3 separate regions of the Homo sapiens genome follow, and all the other regions are linked to region 2. The links are contacts of gene promoters, found by promoter capture Hi-C in human tissues and cell types (Jung and others, 2019). All regions are on one chromosome and are shown on one strand. Each heading gives the region's core, a stretch centred on a gene start or on the middle of the fragment in contact. The rest is flanking DNA. Distances are from core to core; before and after follow the strand shown. Region 1 holds the start of ZNF560 (zinc finger protein 560). Region 2 holds the start of ZNF559 (zinc finger protein 559). Region 3 overlaps ZNF560 (zinc finger protein 560).

Evidence for each region. The method cuts DNA at HindIII sites, captures the fragments that hold promoters and counts their contacts. A contact is called where the count stands out against the background at its distance.
Region 1: a contact is called between the fragment with the promoter of ZNF560 here and the fragment with the promoter of ZNF559 in region 2, in 2 of the 25 tissues and cell types used here (IMR-90 fibroblasts and adrenal gland).
Region 3: a contact is called between a fragment that was not itself captured here and the fragment with the promoter of ZNF559 in region 2, in 2 of the 25 tissues and cell types used here (H1 embryonic stem cells and aorta).

Annotation. Positions count from the first base shown.
Region 1 is chr19:9,496,723-9,499,883 of GRCh38, reverse strand. It overlaps ZNF560 (zinc finger protein 560), which reads left to right and starts at 1,268. Exons shown (of 10, transcript NM_152476.3): 1 at 1,268-1,346; 2 at 1,669-1,756. The HindIII fragment of the contact is 15,358 bases long and covers 1-3,161 here.
Region 2 is chr19:9,322,692-9,325,874 of GRCh38, reverse strand. It overlaps ZNF559 (zinc finger protein 559), which reads right to left and starts at 1,696. Exons shown (of 7, transcript NM_032497.3): 1 at 1,647-1,696; 2 at 1,095-1,180. ZNF559-ZNF177 (ZNF559-ZNF177 readthrough) reads right to left here and starts at 1,696. Exons shown (of 13, transcript NM_001384659.1): 1 at 1,647-1,696; 2 at 1,095-1,180. RefSeq lists a silencer at 1,293-1,432 and an enhancer at 1,603-1,852. The HindIII fragment of the contact is 8,356 bases long and covers 1-3,183 here.
Region 3 is chr19:9,469,424-9,472,679 of GRCh38, reverse strand. It overlaps ZNF560 (zinc finger protein 560), which reads left to right. Exons shown (of 10, transcript NM_152476.3): 6 at 1,302-1,384; 7 at 2,162-2,288; 8 at 2,970-3,050. Among named protein-coding and RNA genes, the nearest start is that of ZNF560, 28 kb to the left of the region's middle. The HindIII fragment of the contact is 4,169 bases long and covers 1-3,256 here.

The sequences.
Region 1 (3,161 bases), core at 19-2,518, 170 kb before region 2:
AATGAACAATCAGAAAAGGAAACTGAGAATGTGATCCCTTTTACAAATAAGTTACATGGGAATAACTTTACCCCAAGAGGTAAAATATTTGTAAACTGAAAATTTCAAAACATTACTGAAAGAGTTTAAAGAAGACCTAAATAGAGAGATATTGTATATTCACACATAGGAAGACTCAGTATTATAAAGATACCAATATAACCCGAAGATTCAACTAAATCTCTACCACAAGTCCAACAGTCCTTTCTTTTTCTGCACAGAATAAGTGAAGAATGCCTGGTATCAGTGTTATTTCATAAAGTAGTACAGGAGGCTTTGAATCATTTGATAAGATTTGAGAAATAGTAACAAATACATTGTTGAAGAAGAAAAAAAAATACAATAAGGCCAGGCATGGTGCATGATGGCTCACGCCTGTAATCCCACTTCGGGAGTGCAGGGCGGGCAGATCACTTGAGCCCAGGAGTTCCAGACCAGCCTGGGCAACATGGTTAGATCCTGTCTCTACAAAATAATAATAATGATGATAATAATAATAATACAAAAATTAGCCGGGTGCGGTGCGCCCGTGGTCCCAGCTACTCGGGAGGCTGAGGTGGAAGGATGGCTTGAGCCTGGAGAGGTGGAGACTGCAGTGAGCCGTGTTCCTACCACTGCATTCCAGCCTTGGCAACCGAGCCAGACCCTACCTCGAAGAAAAAAAGAAAAGAAAAGAAAAAAGAAAGAAAAGAAAAAAATTGCAATATTTACAGAAAGTATCGATAACTGAAAACGCAGAGGAATCAATGATTAGAGTTTAGCAAGGTCAGATAAATAAAAAGAAATAAGAGAAAATAAAGTTCTAAAGACGTGATCGAATGCAGGAAGCAGGCCATTTTGTGGATTGGCAGGTTATCAACTGGAGAGAATCCTGAAAGGGGTCCAGGAACGTGGGGAAAGTTTCTAATGAGCATCCTGAGGGGCGAGTCCATCGCCCGACGTTTCGCCTTCCTGGTCCATTCTGCCACCGAAGCCACCGGCTGGGTCTGGTCCCACCTCCAGCCCCGCCCCCGGGCATGGGCCCCGCCCACAGCCCTGATTTAACCCCCACCTTTCTCTGTGGGTCCATTTCTCTCTTGCCCACCCAGGCACTGAGCCGACCCCTTGATACCTCCGCACCCACGCGGAGGGAAACTAGAATCCTGAAGAGTTCCATCCTGTCCAACTGCCCACACAACGAGCCACGCCCCTTCCAATGCCCCAAACGGAAGTGACGTTGCGGCGCGCCAGTTCTCTCTTTTGGTCGCTGGCGCCTGTTTCCTCAGAGCCACTTTTTCCTTTGTGTTGTCTGGTCGTTCACTACTTTGGTGAGGCTCGTGTGGACTAGTGGGTTGGGCGGTGTTTCGGGGGGTGGCAGAGGTCACAATCGACCCAGGGTAATCGAGGAACCTCCTTACAGAGGCCTGGACCACTCCACAGGAGTCCGCAGGAGTCGCGGAGCCATCGGGTGAGGCCACGTCGAAGAGGCCATTGGGACCTTCGGTCCCCTAGAGGAGCCGGGTGGGAAGTGCAGTATGGGCGCGTCCGAGGGCTGTTTTCAGCCGTGTGTTCCCGTCTTCAAAAGTGTCCAAGCGTTCTGAGGCCTTAAAAAATAAGTCTCCAAGGCAACGTTTGTGAATTGTGTTTCAGAGGGAAAAGAATTTTGCCGTTCGCGTTCGATTGACTCCGTCCCCAAGATCCTGTAGCCCCACGGACCTGGCGACTCCACCGTGTTCGGGTGAGCATTGGGAAAAAGTTGGTTTAAGGGGGCAGCTGCTTCCTTTTTTATGCAAACGAGTGTTTCATGTGAGATTTTGGCATTTTGCCTTTGTGAAACCTGTATATTTTTTATTGACACATTACGTTCCGGTAGAAAGGTGCTTTCTTAGTTGTCTAGGGTGTGCGTATTTCTGCATGTGCATATAAACGTTTGTAGACCGCGAGTCTTTCTACTAAAGAAACCTAAGAATACTCAGCCATTCTTTTCATCTGAAGTTCCTAGCTCTGTACGTCTCCAAAGAGCTTCATAACCAGGCTTCCTGGAAGAAAGGATGGAGGGTTTACACACTAATACTAGAATAATCGAATTTACCATTAACAGGATGACTGTACTAAGTGTATTTTTCCCGCATTTTTTTTCGAAAAAACTTAAACCTATGGGTATGTTGACCATCCAGTACCACGAATAAATATCCATTGTAGCTGCACCTGTTTTTTAGCGTTTTGTGTATTCGCCGTCTCGTAAATAAATTTTATGGTGAACAGTTTGAGAGTCAATGGGAAATTCATTGCAGAGATGAAGCTCGACATTTTTTTTTTTTTTTTTTTTTTGAGAGGGGGTCTAGCTGTGTCGCCCAGGCTGGAGTGCAGTGGCGCGATCTCGCCTCACTGCAACCTCTGCCTCCCGGGTTCAAGCGATTCTCCTGCCTCAGCTTCCCAAGTGGCTGTAATTACAGGGGTGTGCCACCGTGCCCGGATAATTTTTTGTATTTTTGTAGAGATGGGGTTTCACCGTGATAGCCAGGATGGTAAGCTCGACATTTAAGTAGTGGGTAATGCCTGACTCAATGATAAGAGTGTTGTTTTACTAAAACCGTAATACTATTTGCATCAAGAAAATTAAAAATAATAATGTTATCTAATATTTACTATGTATAATAAATGAAAATTCTCCAAATTCTTCTAAAATATAACGGAATGTTTTTGGATCTGAGCTCTATTCAAGATTTTTTTTTTTTGAGAGTTTTTTTGAGGCAGGATGTTGCCTTGTTGCCCAGGCTGGAGTGCGGTGGCATGATATTGGCTCACTGCAACCACCGCTTACCACGCCCAACTTTGTGTTTCTGTGCCTGGTTTATTTCACTTAACGTACTGTCCTCCAGTTCTATCTACGTTGTTGAAAATGACAGGATTTCATTCTATTTTTTTTTTGAGACACAGTCTCGTTCTGTCGCCAGGGTGGAGTGCAGTGGTGTGATCTCGACTTACTGCAACCTCTGCCTCCCTGGTTCAAGCGATTCTCCTGCCTCAGCCTTTTGAGTAGCTGGGATTTCAGGCACGTGCCACCTCGCCCAGCTAATTTTTGTATTTGTAGTGGAGATGGGGTTTCACCATGTTGGCCAGGATGGTCTTGATCTCCTGAC
Region 2 (3,183 bases), core at 447-2,946:
CATGATAAAGTACATATACAAAAAAATGAAACAAATCTTAACAACTAGTGAATGTAGTTAAGGGTTAAAGACTTTTTTTTTTTTTTTTGGAGACGGAGTCTCGCACTGTTGCCCAGGCTGGAATGCAAGGGTGCAATCTTGGCTCACTGCAACCTCTGCCTCCCAGGTTCAAGCGATTCTCCTGCCTCAGGCTCCTGAGTAGCTGGGATTACAGGTGCCCACGCCCGGCTAATTTTTTGTATTTTGAGTAAAGACGGGGTTTCACTATGTTGGCCAGGCTGGTCTCAAACTCCTGACCTCGTGATCCGCCAGCCTCAGCCTCCCAACATGCTGGGATTACAGGCGTGAGCCACCACACCTGGACTAAAGACATTTGTTTTACTCGAGCTACAGATGTTCTCTAGATCAGTATTTGTTTTTTTTTCTTCTTTTTGAAACAGGGTCTCACTCTGTTGCCTAAGCTGGAATGCAGTGACACAATAATGGCTCACAGCAGCCTCGACCTCCCATGCTCAAGTGATCCTCGCATCTCGGCCTCCAAAGTGGATGGGACCACAGACACCACCATGCCCAGCTAATTTTTTATTTTTAGTAGAGACAGAGGCTTGCCCTATTTTTTCCAGGTTGGCATCAAATTCCTGGGCTCAAGCGATCCTCCAGCCTCAGCCTCCCAAAACGCTGGGATTACAGGTGTGAGCCACCTTGCCCCGCCCTCAGTAAGACTTTCAAATGAGTAACTGGTAGAAAACCCACCTGTCAAAAGTTATCTTCGCATTCATTATCAATTCAATCCCTCCTGCTAGTAAATCAGCCCGCACCGTGTTCCTGGGGATGCCCTCGTTTTGAACCTCTGGGGGAATCTACAGGGCGCTAGAGTGAGATCTAGGTGATGGCCTGGAACCACAGTTGAGTAGTCCTGTGTTTTTCCTTGGTGGTAAATTTTACAGTTATGTGCATTCATCCACTCATGCATTCGATGGTATCAGATCCATGTGCTCTCGAACAACCACCTGAAAAGGTTTCTTTCCACCTCGACACAACTTAAACTTCAAGACCCGACACCCACAGCCAGAACAAGTGCATGAAGTGCTCACCGGGACACGACAGAATTGTCAGGTTGCTGAGGCCAGGAGGACACCAAGCGAAGGTCACCGTGAACAGGAAGGCAGAGATGCTGTTCCTTATAGAGAAAAGGCACAACGCTGGATGTGGAGACTTTTTTTTTTTTTTCCATTAGAGATGGTTGGGGGGGGGGGTCTCCCTATGTTGCCCTGCCTGGTCTTGAACTCCTGGCCTCAAGTAATCCTCCTACCCAATCCGCCCAAAGCGCTGGGAATGACAGGCGTGAGCCGCCGCGCCGGGCCCTATGAGGCTTCTGCAGAGGGGAGCAGGGAAAATGGAAAGGCCGTGCCCCCCGCCTCCTCCCGGGCCGAGGCCCCAGCGCAGCCGCCTCGACCCCTGAGGACAGACCTGACTGTGGCTCTCAGAGGAGGGGCCGCGACTTGGGAGAGCCCACAAGATGCTCGAAATGCCCGAAAGTGCACGGGACAGGCTCCATTTCACTGGGCACCTCCCCTTTCCACCCTTCTACTCTCGCGTGGCTGCACCGGGACACCACCGAACGCCGCCCAGAAACAAAAACTTACCTCAGACGCCAACGGGAACGCGCTGTTAAGATGGCGGCCGTTATGCGCATGCGCCCACGCAGACACGCCGCGCACGCGCAAAGGCTAGGACCACCTAGGGGGCGGGGCCTCGGGTTCCCGGGCCCATCAGCTGCTGCGGCTTTTTCCAACCCAGAGCTGAGAGGAAATGCTGTTTACCTCCCCGAAGAGCGCAAGTGTCACCGGTAGGGGGTCTTGACTGCAAGCTGTCCAGGTTACTGGCGTTTTGAACAAAGAATTAGACAAAACGCCCAGCAAAGCAAAGAAAGAATGAAGCAACAAAAGAACAAGAGCTGGGATTTGTTGAAAACGAAAGCATACTCCACAGTGTGGGAACTGGCCAAGCGGCAGCTCAAGGGCTCCGAAACAGAACCTTCATGAGTCCCAATACCTCCTAGAATTTTCCCATTGGCCACTTCATGCTCACCTCCTGTAAATGAAGCGGTAGCCCGCGTTCAGTCTGATTGGTTGCAGAAAGCAGCCAACCAGAGTCTGAAGTTACAAAGGTCACACTCCTGTGCAAACATCTGATTGGTTGCAAAAAGCAACCAATCAAAGGCTAGGGTGAAGTTACGACGTTACAAAGTTACACTTCTATGCAAATGAAGACTCAACCGGCCATCAGTCTGATTTGTTGCAGACAGCCAATTTCCTATCTGCCAGCAGAAAAGGTCAAAGGGAGTAGCCTCTGGTCCTTTTGTTATTTAGGCGAGGAAAGTGAGGGTTTTCCTTTCAATTTAGTTCTAGGAAGTCGGCCTGAAACAGCCTTAAGTTCCCTGCCTCCCGACTCTATTCAGCCTCACAAGGGCTTGATTTTTGGTCATCTCACACTCAGAGACTAGAATGCTCCTATTGGAATTTGTTCAAAAATTAGCACATAGAGGCTGGGCCTGATGGCTCACGCCAGTGATCCCAGCACTTTGGGAGGCTGAGGCAGGCAGACCACTTGAGCTCAGGAGTTCGAGACCAGCCTGGGCAATATGGCAAAACCCTATTCCTATAAAAAAGACAAAAAACACAAAAATTAGGACGTAGTTAAGAGCATAGATAAGATTCATGCGGACTTCCTAAAAGTGAAAACACCAAGATCTGGGGTCGGGGAATCTAAGGCCAATTCGTGATAATTTCCTAAAGTTAAATCAAAGGAAAAACACCTGGGGCTGGGGGCAGGGCACCTAAGGCCAATTAACACAAACTTCCTGAAGCTAAACCAAAAGGAAAAACCCCATCTCCCCAAGATCAAAGACTACTCTCTCTACAGTAAAAAGTAAAGTAGAGGTTCCTCTTCAAAGACTTTCCTGCCCATCTAATTAGGAATAAATAGTAACTTCTGTTAGAAGCAAAATTTATTCAAAGACCTGTACTAATGTGTCCGGAATTGGTGGGTTCTTGGTCTCACCGACTCCAAGAATGAAGCCGGGGACCCTCGTGGTGAGTGTTACAGATCTTAAGGTGGCACGTCTGGAGTTTGTTCCTTCTGATGTTCGGATGTGCTCGGAGTTTCTTCCTTCTGGTGGGT
Region 3 (3,256 bases), core at 89-2,588, 150 kb before region 2:
TTATACAATTCTACCATAATGTAGAATCAATGGGAACCCTGAGGTTGTTTTCCTGTAACCAGATGGTCCCATTTGGGGATCTGGGGGTGATGGGAGACAGTGACAGATCATCAGGCATTAGATTCTCAAAAGGAGCGCGCAAACTAAATCCTTCGCATGCACAGTTCATGATAGATTTTGCTCTTTTATGAGAATCAAGTGCTGCCGCTGATCTGACAAGAGGCGGAGCTCAGGAGGCAATTAGGATGGAGAGCAGCTATAAATACAAATGAAGCTTCACTTGCTCTCCTGCCACTCACCTCCTGTGCTGTGGCCTGGTTCTGGTCCATGGCTCCGGAGTTGGAGACTCCTGTTTTAAACTACCAGGTCTCACATGAATTCAGAACAAGAACTCACTTATTACTCCGAGTATGTCACTAAGCCATTCATGAAGGACCCACCCCCATGATCCAAACATCTCCCACCAGGCCCCACCTCCAGTATTTGGCGTTGCATTTCCATATGAGATTTGGAGGGAACTAACATCCAAACCATCAGAAACATAATGAGGGAACTTTTTTTTTTTTTTTTGAGACGGAGTCTCACTCTGTCCCCCAGGCTGGAGTGCAGTGGCACGATCTTGGCTCACCGCAACCTATGCCTCCCAGGTTCATGCCATTCTCCTGCCTCAGCCTCCCGAGTAGCTGGGACTACAGGTGCCTGCCAACATGCCCGGCTAATTTTTTGTATTTTTAGTAGAGATGGTGTTCCACCGTGTTAGCCAGGATGGTCTTCATCTCCTAACCTTGTGATCCGCCCACCTCAGCCTCCCAAAGTGCTGGGATTACAGGCGTAAGCCACCACACCCAGCCCTCTGAGGGAACTTTTTAAGATGCACCTTCTCTCACAAGGTTAAGGCCATTTATCTCAGAAGTTAGAAAATATTCAATTTTTGATACTCTTTAAATTTCCATCTACTCCAACTTTCTATGATCTTATGAAACTATATATTTTGTTTTTCAAGTTCTTTGCTTTGAAATATGGCTTTGGCCCAGATCTTTCCTACTTTTCTGATAACATTCTTTCTGTTTAACATTAGTTTTAAATCTAAATGAGTCAATTTGTAGCAAATTAGCTAAAATTTTGACCCTTTAATCTCATTATTGCCAATTTTTTGACACAGTCTAAATGTTCAATTTAGCTTTCTTTTTTCTTATGTTTATTTTAAAAACAAATATGAATGAGGCCTATAATTTTTAACTCTTTCATTTTACCTTTTTTTTTAAAAAAAAAAAAAACCTCAGTTTATGTTTTTGTTTCAGACTGGGCAATAAAACATCAAACCAGTGTTTCAGCACTGCAGCAGGAGTTTTGGAAAATACAAACTTCTAATGGGATACAAATGGTAATGTTAAGAAAGGGTATTTCTTATTTTTCACACTCAGAGAATATTGGGACTTCCAATATAGAAAATAAGCACAAAAGATAATTGAGAGGAATAGCATTCACTCAAGAGGGAGCAATGTCTCTGGAGAGATGCTCTGATAATGATGAATTTGGGGAGATCTAAACTTAGTGTGAAAGTTGTATCCTTCTAAAATTGGAGTAATGATATCAACAAAGACTCATTTTCTTGTAGGTACTCCTGTCTGTATTCTTCCTTAAAGCAAATATAGACCCTAGTTGAATTTTTCCCAGAAAGTCATACCTCTCATATTGGTGAGGAATTACCCTGGAAATTATCTCAGTATTTTTGTATTTATGAATTAGTGTTCATTTTCCTGGTGCCAACTGCATATTTATTTTTCTGGGTGCTAGGACAGATGGTAAGGGGTATGAAAGTGTTCTTTTCTTAAGGAATTTATCCATATCCTCATTTATCAAGTATTTGTTATGTGCTCAGGAGTGTTTTGCAGTAGAGAGGAATCAAATGAGATGAGCTCCCGGTCTAGTTGTGGTTGATAAGTTTCTGTGTAAGAGGTTCTGTTACAGCCATGTTATTGGAGGAAATTGACAGTGAGTGAATGTGGATAGAAGAGTTCCTAGGGCCACTGAACCTTGGGGTGTAGATAGTGGGAGCACTCAGTACCCTGTACAGGGATTGGGTCCCCCTTCCTCATTCTTCAGCCAACATTGGTGGAGATGTTGCTTGGCTCAAATCAGCATGTGTCTGATGGTTTAGGACCTGGTAACCTTTGACAGTGTGGCTGTGGAGTTCACCCAGGAAGAGTGGACTTTACTGGACCCAGCTCAGAGAAACCTGTACAGTGATGTGATGCTGGAGAACTACAAGAACCTGTCCTCAGTAGGTAAGTCTGGCATCATCCCTTGTAGCCTATTCTGGAACAAGATACAAATTATGTACTTACTGTATTCTAGGATTAGTGATGTCAAATCTGAATACAGTGGGATATATACACACTGAAAAAAAATTTTTTTTAATGAGTAAAATAGGAAATAACAGAGACAGTTCCTGTACTAATGGGTTTTAATCTTGTATGGTAGTTTGCGTCAGTAGCATCACCATCACTGTCTTAGATATGTGTACATTCTCAGACTCGATGTACTAAATCAAAAAGTCTGCTGTTGGGGCCCTGTATTCAGATGAGTAATTCACTCTAAAGTTCAGAACTACTGGAATGGGAGTTTTCCCAGGAGAATCAAGATCTCTCTTTGAGCTTCCATTAGTTTCTATTTTAATAAAGGTTTTAGTGGTTTTTAGAATTTGTATTTAACATTTGCCATTTAGAAAGAAAAAGTGCAGCTCACTGCTAGTGCTTGTTTCTTGGGGCAAACAGGAAATGAGTTAAGCTTGAATGTGAATTTCAGAGGTCAGAGATAACCAGTGTCTTCAGAGAACAGAAAGATGGGATATATGCAATTTAAGTGCTTTTCACTGCTTTAATTAGAAACGTAGTCCCTGTTTCATGGAAAAGTTTGCCATTTCTTGCATGAGCCTCTTCCATTGGTGTATCTTTCCCTGTGTACAGGTTACCAGCTCTTCAAACCCAGTCTGATCTCTTGGCTGGAGGAAGAGGAAGAGTTGAGCACACTGCCAAGAGTTCTCCAAGGTGAGTGTTTGTGAAGAACAACCCTGGTCCATGAGAAGTTCTCAGTACGTTTGGAAGCACAATGAAGTTTTATAAGATGCCCTTTGAATCAGAAGGCTGTCCACTGGACTTGGATGTTTTGGGATATCTTAACTTTTCATCCTCCATTGCTTTGCATCTATCCAGACTTCCCTATTACCTAACAAATGACCTTCTTTATGTTTATG